Linked DNA regions of Homo sapiens: region 1 is linked to region 2. The links are contacts of gene promoters, found by promoter capture Hi-C in blood cells and fetal thymus (Javierre and others, 2016). All regions are on one chromosome and are shown on one strand. The core of a region is centred on a gene start or on the middle of the fragment in contact, and the rest is flanking DNA. Distances in the headings are between cores, read along the strand shown. Region 1 holds the start of RBBP6 (RB binding protein 6, ubiquitin ligase). Region 2 holds the start of USP31 (ubiquitin specific peptidase 31).

Region 1 (6,446 bases), core at 2,653-5,152, 1.4 Mb after region 2:
TGCTAAGATTACAGGTGTGAGCCACCACTCATGGACTCTTTATTAACAATATACTTCACAATGAAAAAGGGAATACAGTGATCTTCATTCTATATTATACCCTATATACCAAAAAAAATCAGATTGATTATGGAGTTTAAAATCATGAAGCTATATATAAACTGGAAGGAAATATAGCAAAAAAATATCTAAGGTGAGTGCTGAGTGGGCTACAAGCCATTTCTCAAAGCAAAAGCAAAAACCATAAAGGGAGAAAGGTCAATGGACTTTTGTTTGTTTGTTTGGAGACAGGTTCTCCCTTTGTTGCTTAGGCTGGAGTGCAGTGGCACGATCATAGCTCACTGCTGCCTCAAACTCCCCGGCTCAAGCTATCCTCCCACCTCAGCCTCCCAAAGTACTGGTATTACAGACATGAGCCACAGCACCCTGCCGGTCGATGGGCTGTATTACATAAACTGCAAAAAAATAAAAAATACCCCAACAACTGTAGGCTGAAATATTAAATAAAATAGAAAGGCAACATAAAAGCAATCAACTCTCTGGAGAAAATACAGTGTGATGTAAGGGATGTATCTACCTTCTGTGAATTGGACTGACAACACAGAGGCTTAGAACTATTTTTTTTTTTTTTTTTTTTTGAGGTACAGTCTCGTTCTGTCACCCAGGCTGGAGTGCAGTGGCAAGATCTCGGCTCACCACAACCTCCGCCTCCTGGGTTCAAGTGATTCTCCTGCCTCAGCCTCCCCAGTAGCTGGGATTACAGGTGTGCGCCAGTGCGCCAGGCTGATTTTTGTATTTTTAGTAGAGACAGAGTTTCACCACGTTGACGAGGCTGGTCTTGAAATCCTAACCTCAGGTGATCCACCCACCTGGGCCTCCCAAAGTAATGGGATTACAGGCGTGAGCCACCATGCCTGGCCTTGTTAGTGCATTTTTAAGATTACATTCAATATACAAGCATAGAACAGCTTCCGTGGGACCAGGCACAAGCTCAGTCCTGTAACCCCAGCACTTTGGGAGGCCAAGGCGGGAGGACTGCTTGAGGCCGTGAGTTTGAGACCAGGGTGGGTAGCATAGTGAGGCTCTGACACTACTGAAAAAACTAAAAATTAGCTGAGCATGTTGGCACAAGCCTATAGTCCCAGCTACTCAGGAGCCTGAAGCAGGAGGATTACTTGATCCCAGGAGTTCAAAGTTACAGTGAACTGTGATTGCACCACTGCACTCCAGCCTGGGTGACAGAGCAAGACCCGGACTCCAAAATAATACTACTAATAATTAAACAAACAAAAAGAGAACAGCCTCCATGAAATAGATCTCATTCCGACTTCCTGAGCTTGAGTAGTTCACTACAGACAGCAGGCAGGCAGAGCTCCTTGGATCTCCCAATTCCGCTTGCTGGAACTGAATTTTGACATAAGAAAATAAGTTAAGGGGTTTACTAACTGTCTATGGTCAATGGTATGAGGCTATACTGGGTTTGAGAATGACAAAGGTTTGAAATCCTGGGACATGGGAGCTCCAGAATTGTTACATTATGAGAAGCTTAGACAGGAATGCTTCATTCACTGTAGGATAGTACAAAAGGCTTTTTCAGGGCTTACAAAAATATTGGTAGGGAGAGAAGCGTCAGGGAGACCAGCTCCATATTACCCAAAGAAAACGGCAAAATTTACAATTCAGCTCACTGAAGAAAAAAGAAAATAAAAAGTTTTTTTTTTAAAAAAAGAAAACTGCAAAATGAAGATTAGTAAAGGAATTCAGTGAAATGGACCAAATGTAGCATTGTGTCAATTAGTCAGGCAACTCAAGTCATAGGCTTATTGCAGGTGGTGAATGCATTTTGACCTGTTTGATGTGATATGAAGTGAGGCCTCTGTAAGTGAGAATATCAAGGTTGAACAAAGTTTTTGGCAGATGAGAACGGTTGGACCAATAGACAACATTCTTTCCAAGGACATCCCCCCCTGCAGATTAGGTTATGATCCACTCTGTCATATCCTGAGGGTGTGGCCCACTTTGAGATCCCATGATGCACCACGCTGATTAAATTAGGCATTCAGTATATAAAGGGGTCGGCCACAGACGGGCAAAAGGAACAGATTCACCGCTTCGGAGTGAATTCCATGACGGCTTGCAATTTTCTCGTCGAGTTTTTCTTTCACTAGAGATAGCCCTCGCCCTTTCATTCACACAGAGGCTTTTAAGAAAAAAGCAACCAACCTGAAGAGGACCTGGCAGCAATAAGTTTTTGGTGAAATAACAAAGAGGTAAAAGTGGAAGAAACTTGTTATATATGAAAAGTACTGATGTGTGTGGTTGAGTTAAATTGTAATGGTATCTCTAGAGCTGCCCTTGACTACGGCCAAAATTTTATTGCCACGACATCTCTATGGATCACGTAAAAATGTATCCAGTTATTCAGCACGTATTTATTGAGCACCTACTATGTTCTAAGAGCTGAGGATACAGCAAAAACAAATATAAAGATAAGATTCCTATTGTCAGCCGAAGGTAGGGGTTGGGGGAGATAGATAATTAAAAAGTAAATGTGTAACTGTCAACTATCTGCAAGTGCTAGGAAGAAAAGACTAAAGGGATAGAGAAAGATCGCCATCTTATTTTAAAAAGATGGCCTTAGGAAGGCTTTTCTGGCAGGATGGTGATTAATTTTAAATCAAGTTCAGTAAGAATTTGGAGTGTGCTTGCAGGAAGTCCCTGGGAAACTCTGCTACTTCTCGGCTATAGGATCTTATTCTCAGTTGCCTAAATTCACTGAGCCTAGCCTGTAAAATTCAGAGAGGATGAGGAACATGGATTGTAAACGATAATAACTATCGTTTATGAATGTAATTTTATTATATTATGATTTTTTCTGAATGTAATAACGTCCCCATGCCCAAAGGAAAAAAAAAATTCCAATCTACTGAGGGGGTTCTTGTCACTGTTCCTGGCATTTGCGCTTAGGAATGGAATCGGGACCCTGCCACTGAGCAGGCATCCCCTTCTGCAAATTCAGAAAGTACATGATTGCTAGCTTCAGTTCCATCATCTATAAATCGGAAATAATGTCATGTTGACCACGTAGGGTTTTTGTTGTTAAATTGACATTTATTGAGCTACAGCTATTAATATTTCGGTGCATTGAGCCACGTCAATGCACCGGCATGGTCTTAGACTATGGATTTATGTGCATTTATTTAATCCAAGTAAACCAAGTACTATTTTTAATGGCATTTTACAGCCAAGGAGACCCAGGCACAGAGGGGTTAAATCTAGAGCCCCCACAGCCAGGGATCCAACCCAGACAACGTGGCTGCTGAGCCTGGCAATGTTGTTATGCGATCAGCCCTGTGCCTAGCACATAGTAAGAGCTCAATAAATCTGTATGGTGCTGGTGGCTGTTATCAGTTCTTGGCAGCGGCTGCTCCACGATTTCCACTTGTCAAGAGTATAGGGTAGCCAGTTTATTGGAAGCAGCAGCTAGGGAGCGCTTGCATAGCAACCATAGTTTTCTGCGTAGCAACCATAATGCTCACTTAAATTGGGAGGCTTAGAGGAGCTGACGGGGCCTGTGGGGAAGGGGGAGTTAGCCGGCCACCCCTAGGCAAGCCACTTTGCAGTGGAAACTGCACGCAGCCCCTGCAAGGCGAGCTCTCCCCACCGAGCCTCCCTGTGAGCCGGTCCTCCTGACGCGCAACCCCCCTCCCTTTTGAAGCAGATGGTTCTTCCCGTTGTCCCTGCTCTTTCAGTTTCCGCGCTTTGGAGTCACAAAGCGCGGGGTCACGTGGGCGGGCCGTGCGCTTTGTGACGTCAGCCGCCCCGCCTCTCGGCCCGCCTATCCGCGCACGCCAGCCCCGCCTCGCGCGCGCCGCCCGTGCAATCCCTGCTTAAGAGACCCCGCAGTGGGGCGCTCGTCCGAAGCCAGGCCGCGTCCGCCATAGTACCTGGCTTGGAGGTGTCGCCGCCGCTCGGTGAGAGCCCCCGAGCGGCAGGGGGCCAACACAAAAAGGGAGCCGGAGAAGCCCTAGCCGCTGCCCAGCAGCTTGCGGGCGTGTTCTCGCGGTTCCGGGCCTCAAGGCGACGGAAACGAAAGGCGAGCGAAGCGCGGAGGATCCGGCGAGAAGAAGCGTCAGGGAGCCTCGGCGGTGTCCCCGGGGTCCGCCGAAGCCACCCGGCCGCCGGCTGGGGCCCGGGGTGGTGAGGAAGTGCTCCGAGGCCTCGCCGAGGCCTAGCGCCGGCTTTGTGTCCGAGGCGGCGGCGGCGGCGGGGGGAGGCGGAGCCGGGGGCGGCCTGCGGGAAGGCCTCTCCTCCGCCGACCGCGCGTTTTCGGCCTAGGCCGTGGGGCCGCTCGTGGCCTCCGGGGAGCAGGCGCCAGGGGTTTGTGTGCGGTGGGGGCCTGGGCCTGGGCCTGGGGAAGCTGACGCCGGTCGTCCGGAAGCCAGGAGGAGGCGTGAGGCCGCTCGTGGACTCCGGGCCTAGGCCCTCTCCCCTCAACCTTCTCCCGGGGCCTGGGTCACCCCAATCCACGGAGAGAGAGACCCGCCGGGAGGTGCGGCCGCGCTATGGACCCCTGACCCCGTGGGGTCGCTCGGACTCTTAACGTGTGGACTGACCGCTACTGACTGCACCGCCAATCCCCCCGTCTCTGCCGGCCCCTTAGCATGAGCGAGGGGGACCCAGCCGGGTGACATTGTGCCCGTTGGCGGATTCTCGATTTCCCCTCTTCCCCGTCCTCGTCCTCCTCCTCCCCCATGAAGTGATTCTGAGTATCGGGGGGTCTCTGGATTATTGTTCTGACGAACCCCTGCTTGTGGTTGGGGGGTATTTAATCTGAGGCCTTAGGGTCCTTCGGTGTCTTTGAGTGTTTTGTGTGTACATATTTTGCTCTTAAAGTTTATAAATATACGTATATTGAGAGTGTCCACGTCTCCTCGCTGAACCTTAGGAATCCCTTGGCACCATGTCCTGTGTGCATTATAAATTTTCCTCTAAACTCAACTATGATACCGTCACCTTTGATGGGCTCCACATCTCCCTCTGCGACTTAAAGAAGCAGATTATGGGGAGAGAGAAGCTGAAAGCTGCCGACTGCGACCTGCAGATCACCAATGCGCAGACGAAAGAAGGTAAGGGCCGCTTGGTCTTAAGATATTTGGTGGCTGGAGAGAGATACTAGCTAGAAGGTGCCTGGCAGGAAGCTAACCGCCATTATGTCTCTAGTGGGGACTGTTCGTTCTAGTACTTTGGATACAACTTTCATTGATAGCCAAGGTTTGCAGCAGTTGGCCTTGGAGTTTCACTGGTTTATTTTATTTCTGCATACTTGGGTCATCTGTAACAGGCTAACCCAAAACGTGGAAGCCTGATTATTCTTCTCGCTGTTTTTTAAAATGAGGGAGGGAGGAGAGGGGGATAGCTATCTAGACTCTTTGAGTGCTTGTCTTAGGGCGTTTTCTAACTTATTTTCCATCAGGAGGGCAGGAGAGCCTGTGCAAAGCTTGTTTGTTCAATCAGCAAAAAAAAAAACAAAAAAAAAACCAAAAAAACAATTTTCTAACCTAACAACATTGTGGAGTTTGATGGCAAATTTTATGTCCTGCCTTCCTCCCTCCTCGCATTTATTTATTTGGAGTTGCTTGCCTGTGTTGTGGATAAGGGATCTGAACTTTAATATTTTTGAGGATTTAATCAGTATTGGAATTGTTTTTGGATCTTGAAATGTTCTGATGTCACCGCTCTTGTCTTGTGTGTCAATTCCAGAATTAGTAATACGGCAATTAAGTAGTTAAACTGTTAGTTCATCACATTACTCTTAAGCTTTATCAATTCGGTGAAGATCAAAAGTACTGATTTTTTTTAAAGTAGTAGTTGCTAGATTTTACGTGACTGTTGATACTAAGGTACTGAAAAATAGGCTGCTACCATAGAGTACAAATAAGCCACTGATAAGAATCGTTAGATTCTTTCTCCTTTTCAAAAGTATTTTGATAATATTGGGAACTTAACAGTAGATAAATGTGACAAGCAGTCTTTCCTGACTCTGAACTTGTTTTGGTTTCTTTTTCTCAGATCAGTAATGCTGATGTGTATTTTTTAGCAGTTCGGTGTTCTAAAAGTTACTGATGGAATGAGAAGAAGTGAAGTTACAATTAGGTTAGGGTATTTTTTTAGTCACTAAATTTTTATCACACTTAAGGTGTGACATGGATTCTTTTAGTTGAAATGGGAGGTCCCCCACCTCCAGCCTGTAGTTTAGGTAGAGTAAATCTTGTCATGTAGAAGACCAGTTTTCCATTTACAATGCAGACCTAAGTATAATTGTATTAGGTTAAGGAACAGCAGTGCTGGCATATCATGACTCAAAAATATTAAGGAAGAATTTATTTGCTCAAATGATATTATGTGAAAATACTGTCTGCTTCCCCACCTTTTAAAAACAAGTG
Region 2 (6,280 bases), core at 3,376-5,875:
TAGCTAAAATAAAACCTTTTTTTAAAAAGTAATCAATTTGCCAGAGTTACCTAACCGGGGGAATAAAAAGGGGAAAAGAATCTAATTATATCACTTCCTTGCTTAAAAATCACCTCTGGATTTTCAACTTGCAGAGGATGAAATCCAAACCAGCATAGCTCACGAAGCCCTTCACAGTGAGTTTCCAACACTCTTCTCCCAGGCTTCCTGCACCCCCACTGCTCTCTATGGTGCAGCCAGCCACTAAATGTCTATTCCCCAAAACCACACGCCCTTTCATGCAACTCCACCACTTCCTTGCCCTGCAAATTTCTATTCATCTTTCAGAACACTGCTCAGGAGCCACCTTTTTGGTAATGCTTTCCTTGTTCCTTGATGCCTGCTATACACAGGATGGTCCTTGAGCCAAAAGCACTGGCATCACCAGGGAGCTTGTTAGAAATGCAGAATCTTGGGCACCGCTCCAGCTCTACCGAATCTCAATTTCCTTTGTAGCAAGATCCCCAGGTGAATTATGTGCACACTGACGCATGAGAAGCGCTGTCTCAGGGAACTTCCTAGATCCTACTCGACTCAGCTCTTCATAGCTCCCTGGGAGGTAAACCCCTCCTTTACTCATCTCCTCTGTGAAGACAGGAAAACCCAAATGCCCACCCTCCAGCCTCCGTGACAGCCAATTGACATGGTTATAGCCAATGAAATATCAGCAGAAGCCTGCTGAGGGGGCTTCTGGAAGAATTTTTATTTCCCTAATGACTTCCTGCCGTCCTGGGTAGAATGCCAGGTGCAGTGGCTGCCATCACTGGACAACCATGAGGTGACAAACCTAAGAACAAAAAGCCAATGATAGCTAAAAAGACAACAGGTGGAAATACAGAAATGGTCTGAATCCTTGTTGGGCCCAACGAGCCACTGAACCATAGAACCATCCACCTCCGGAATCACTGTGTGTGCCAATTGCCAATTGCAACGTTTTCATTGCTTAAGGCACTATCATTAGGGATTTTCCTTTCTTGGGCTGAAGGCATTCCTAACTGATTAAGTAAGCCTTCAATAAATGGGAGGTGAATGAATGAATGTAGAGTGAAACCTACTAAAGGTTCAGGAGATTACTTTTAAAAAGCCAGGCCTCTAAGAATCTGTTCATGTCTGCCAAAGCATGCCTATAAATCAGTCTCTGTACTTCTAGAATTATTGACCCATTTCTGTTCACAGCTTAATGGATAAAAAAGTGAACACAAACTCATAAAAAGCAATGGAAATGTTCACATACAAAGATGCTGTAGAAACTGATTTTCACATTTTGGAAAAGAGGAGAAAACCAAACTTAAATACTAGGCTCTGACCTCGAAAAGTTTACAAATGCTGTGGCTACTTACAGGCAATTGTAAGCAAAGAGGGGCAGTGTGGGGTGGGGGGCGGGGGGTGGACCTACAGTAGTCAGTTCTCCTGATCATTCTCCCTTTCTAATTTTGAGATCTCAGCTGGGCACGGTGGCTCACGCCTGTAATCTCAGCACTTGGGGAGGCCGAGGCAGGTGGATCAAAAATTAACTGGGCATGTAGCGGGCGCCTGTAGTCCCAGCTACCTGGGAGGCTGAGACAGGAGAATTGCTTGATTGAACACAGGAGGCAGAGGTTGCAGTGGGCCGAGATCAGGCCACTGCCCTCCAGCCTGGGCGACAGAGTGAGACTCCATCTCAAAAATAATAATAATAATAATAATTTTGAGATCACTGACATAGATCTTTTTTTCCAGTCCCTATCTCAGTCAAGTACTTCCATTCAAATTGCCAAGATCAAACAGCAACGATTTTTTTCCAAGAAAAACAGCATTGAGCAGCATAAGATGTAAGTAAAAAGTATTAAACGGGGAGAGATGCACACTGGCCATGTAGTTCGTCAGCAAGAAAGCAGGACCTTAACAAAGCAGATCCTCAGCTAGATGACCTTTTCATATTTTAACAAAATCATCTCCTTTTACTTAAATGTTGTTATAAAGAAGCTTTATAGCACCAATGGGAAACCAGTACCTTTTGCCATGAATTGAAGACAAATGGAAACCCAATAAAAACATAACCTTATTAAATTCTAGCTACTGTTACCTGCCAATGCTTCTAGACTTGAAGCTTGTTCTGTTTAAAAAAAAAAAAAAAAATGGGTGGGGGGTGAACAAGAGGTATTAAAAACAGGCTAACATCAAGCTGAGACTTCGTCCTGGGCAAGATTAGGATAGGAAAAAAAAAAAGGAATTAACCTTCTCCCTGTGTGACTTCACGCTGTTTTTGTTTTGTTTTGTTTTTACAGATAGAGTTTCCTGTTGCCCAGGCTGGAGTGCAATGGCACGATCTCGGCTCACTGCAACGTCCGCCTCCCAGGTTCAAGCAATTCTCCTGCCTCAGCCTCCTGAGTAGCCAGGATAACAGGCATGAACCACCACGCCCGTCTAATTTTGTATTTTTAGTAGAGATGGGGTTTCTCCATGTTGGTCAGGCTGGTCTCGAACCCCCGGACCTCAGGTGATCCACCCGCCTTGGCCTCCCAAAGTGCTAGGATTACAGGCATGAGCCACTGCGCCCCGCCCGATTCCATGCTGTTTAATACCATATTCATGTCCCACCTGAAAGTATCCCTTACACAATCTCACATCATGTTCCCCTTCTGCTTAGAGTAACCGCCCAATTTCTTAGTGCATCCTAAATGGTCCCATACCATCCGGTCCCAGCCCACCACTCGGCTCTCAAATCTCACCCTCTCACTACACTTGCAGCCCCACCAGCAAACAGCAAAGGAGGGCTTGGCCAAGGGCCATACATACCCCCAGGGATGTATAGCTCACCCCTGTAATCCCAGCACTTTGGGAGGCCAAAGCGGGGAGAGTGGCTTGAGGACAAGAGTTCAAGACCAGTCTGGGCAACACAGCAAAACCCCCGTCTCTACAAAAGTGTTTTAAAAATAAAAAATAGGTAGGTATGGTGGTGTGTGTCTGTAGTCCCAGCTATTAAATACTCTGGAAGGTGAGGCGGGAGGATTGCTTGAGCCCAGGAGTTTGAGGCTATGTGAGCACTGCACTCCAGCCTGGGCAACAGAGCAAGACCCTGTCTCTAAAAATAAAATAAAAATAAAAAGTAGCCTGTCAGCACATCAATCACAGCAGCAGGTTTTTCTTTCTTCAAACCACTATCTGATATTATCTCGTTAACTTCTTCAAGTCTTTAATAACAAAAATAATAGCAGCAAATACACATGATATGGAAGTATTTTACTTATCAGGTTGAACCCTATAAAAGTGCCAATCTGTAAATAAAAAACGGTTAAATATGGGTAATTCCACAGTGTTCGATTTAATATATTAACTTGTTTGCAGCTCACAACCACCTTACAAAGTAGGTCCCCCAGATGAAGAAACTGTAAGAACAGAGAGGCTGCTTAACTTACCCGACGTCACATTGCTAGTAAGTGGCAGAACCAGGATTTGAACCCATGCTCAACACTCCCACCCCACAAAAATGCAAGTTCCATGAAGGCGGATAGTCTTGTTCATTGCAACGTCACTCCCATTGCCTATTATCACAGAGTATGGGCACGTATGTAGTAAGTTCTCAATAAATACATGTTTGAGTGAGTGAGTGAGTGAATAAATGAATGAATGAATGAATCTCCTTAAAATCACTGGTCGACTGCCCAGACCACTCGGAGCAACCAATGCAGAAGCCTGCCGGGCCAAGAGGAACCGAGGGAAGGAAGACCTGGGCGGGCAGGTGCCCCAGGGGCTCGGGGTGCAGTGGGGGCGCGGCGGCGCGCGGGCTCACCTTGAAGTCGCGGCTGTGCTGCGGGGTGTACTCCAGGGTCCAGAGGGCCCGCACCAGGTGCGCCAGCTGCTCAGTGACCTCGCCCTGGCCCTGCGCGCCGCGGCCCGCAGGCTGCTCCGGGTCAGGCGAGGGCTCGGGCCGCCCCGCCCGGTACTGGCCCAGCGCCAGGTACTCGGCGAAGAGCTCGGTGTTGCTGAGGCACTGCAGCGTGGCGTTCATGAAGCACGTGTTGCCGTGGTTGCGGAGCCCCGCCACGCCGGGCACCGGCTCGGCGGCGCAAGCGGGCGGCGCGGGAGAGGCGGGCGGCGGCGGGCACGGCGGCGGCGTGGGCGCGGCGGCCGGCCCGGGCGGGAAGCAGCTGCGGAGGCCGCCGCGGTCTGGGGCGGCGCCCTCAGAGCTAAGGTGCGAGAGCGTGGACAGCGTCTTGAGAACGCGGCTCATGAAGCTGCCCACCGAGCGTGCAGAGGAGGGCGAGGAGGGCGAGGAAGGCGCGGCCGGCCCGGACGCCCCGGGGCCCCCCGCGCCGCCGCCGCCAGCGCGGCCGCTCCGAAACAGCCGCTTGCTGAAGGAGCGCTTCTCCTTCCCGCTCGCCGCCGCCGGCGGCCCGGACCCAGGCGCCGTTACCTTGGACATGGCGGCGGCCGCAGACACTCATCACCGCGCCCGCCCGCCCGGCCCGCGGCCCCGCCACGGCCGCCGCCGCATCCCGCAGCGCCGCGCCTCACCGGGCCCGGGGGCTCGACGCCCCACACACCTCAAAGCGCAGCCGAGCCAGCGAGCGAGCGGCGGCCGGCGGGGCCAGCGGGCGCGCGCGCGGTCCGCCCAGCTGAGCCGCTCACGTGACGTGCCTCCCGGCGCCGCCCGCCCGGCGCTGAAGCCGCCTCGGCCGCCATGTTCACTGTGGGACGGTAGCTGCCTCTCCAGCCGGACGCGATGCCTGGAGGCTGCGGGCGCGGTCCTGCTGCGTGAAGCCCGAGGGAGGCCATGTCTAGTGTGGGCGCCGTCCCGGCTTGGAGGAAAAGGCTGGGCTCCCGTTGGATGGTGGATCCCCGGGGTGGGTCTCTGTCTTTGCTGGTCAGATGGCAGAGGCGGGAACGTGCAGGAATCAGGATGCTGTCAGTTACCAGACCGTGCAAGAGCTGGTGGACATGGCCCTGACAGGTCCTGGGCAAGTCAGCCCTGTCTGGCTCCCAAGGGACGTTGCAGATACCTACCCTCTGGGTGCCAGCGGAGCGCAGTCACAGACCCTGGCACGTCCCAGCGGGCTTTTCTTCCTGGCTGCACCTTGGAGTCCCAGCGAAACGCTGTTATCATAACTACTTTCCTTTTCATTCCAGCCTTTAAAACTCCTCCGGGCTCTCCCATCATTCATCATTCCATTCATTCATTCACTCACTCATTCATTCAGCAGTTACTGGGGATATTGCAAAGAATTAAACCTATTAAATTAGAATCAAATGTCATATCCCCAGCGGATTAAATTAGCACGGTTTCTACCTGCCCTCTTGCAGCTTACATTCCTACTGGGTGTTTACAATAGCTGTTGTGTTCCACACATTATGCCAAGCATGCAATATTTTCTTTAATCTTTAATTCACCGTCTTTGAGATTGGTACAGTTCTTATCTGATTCAAACCCAAGTTTTATTTACAACCCCTATACTTGACCTCTAAACCAAAGGTCACGAATCCACAAATATCACAGGTCACAAACCCACAAATGAGTGAAGAATCCTGGTGTTTGAATCATCATATTGACTTTCAAGTGACTTGGGTCTCAGTGTTGGGGGAAATATAAGGAATGATGGGGACTATAGCAGACTTCAAATTAACATCTTTCTAAAGAGGTGGCTGCCACTCAGCTCCAGCCAGTTGTTCCCATGTGAGAACAGGAGCTCAGCGTTACCAGATCATCTGATGTTTTAAGAGAAGGCAGAAATCCTATTTTTAAACGTTGGTTCCATTAAAAAAAAAATAGTGCAGGGAGCAAAAAATAGTACATCTTTGGGATGCCTTTAGTCCAAAATCAACTAGTATATGACCTCCTCTCTATAGGCTCCCCTCTGCTAAAAGGGCTAGTCTGAGTCCTGAGGCAGAAGAGAGAAATCAGAGAAGGGAGAGCCCTTCCTCCTTTTTAAAACATGAAGGCCACCTTACACCACGTTTCAAAGTAAATGGTTTTTACCTTTGACCTCCCTCCCCAATGTAAGTAGGGCTCTATGATGACATCTCCAGGGTGCTCTGCACTGTCCCTAATCGGCTCCACTCTCCTCTTAGTCAAAATTCTTATCTGGACACCAGGAAGAAAGCCATCTGATTATTCACACTAAAATGTGAATGCAATGGCCCTCAACTTCTGGGCAGTTTGATCTAGACTCGAGGGCCTTTGCTGGAGCCGTTCCCTCTCCCTTGAACCTTTCCTTAGCTAACTTAGAACCTTTCTACTTAGCTAACTTCCCCTCATCCTTAA

Evidence for each region. Contacts are between HindIII fragments. The CHiCAGO score rates a contact against its expected background, and 5 or more counts as called.
Region 1: a contact is called between the fragment with the promoter of RBBP6 here and the fragment with the promoter of USP31 in region 2, in 1 of 17 cell types (non-activated CD4 T cells). The highest score is 5.9, in non-activated CD4 T cells.

What each region holds. Positions count from the first base shown.
Region 1 is chr16:24,535,664-24,542,109 of GRCh38, forward strand. RBBP6 (RB binding protein 6, ubiquitin ligase) reads left to right here and starts at 3,903. Exons shown (of 18, transcript NM_006910.5): 1 at 3,903-5,129. The coding sequence starts at 4,964. RefSeq lists enhancers at 1,845-2,139, 3,566-4,560, 4,561-5,553 and silencers at 3,850-3,899, 4,170-4,349. The HindIII fragment of the contact is 3,955 bases long and covers 1,544-5,498 here.
Region 2 is chr16:23,144,827-23,151,106 of GRCh38, forward strand. It overlaps USP31 (ubiquitin specific peptidase 31), which reads right to left and starts at 4,626. Exons shown (of 16, transcript NM_020718.4): 1 at 3,812-4,626. The coding sequence starts at 4,444. RefSeq lists silencers at 3,767-3,996, 4,127-4,226, 4,327-4,376, 4,527-4,626 and an enhancer at 4,807-5,026. The HindIII fragment of the contact is 4,661 bases long and covers 2,127-6,280 here.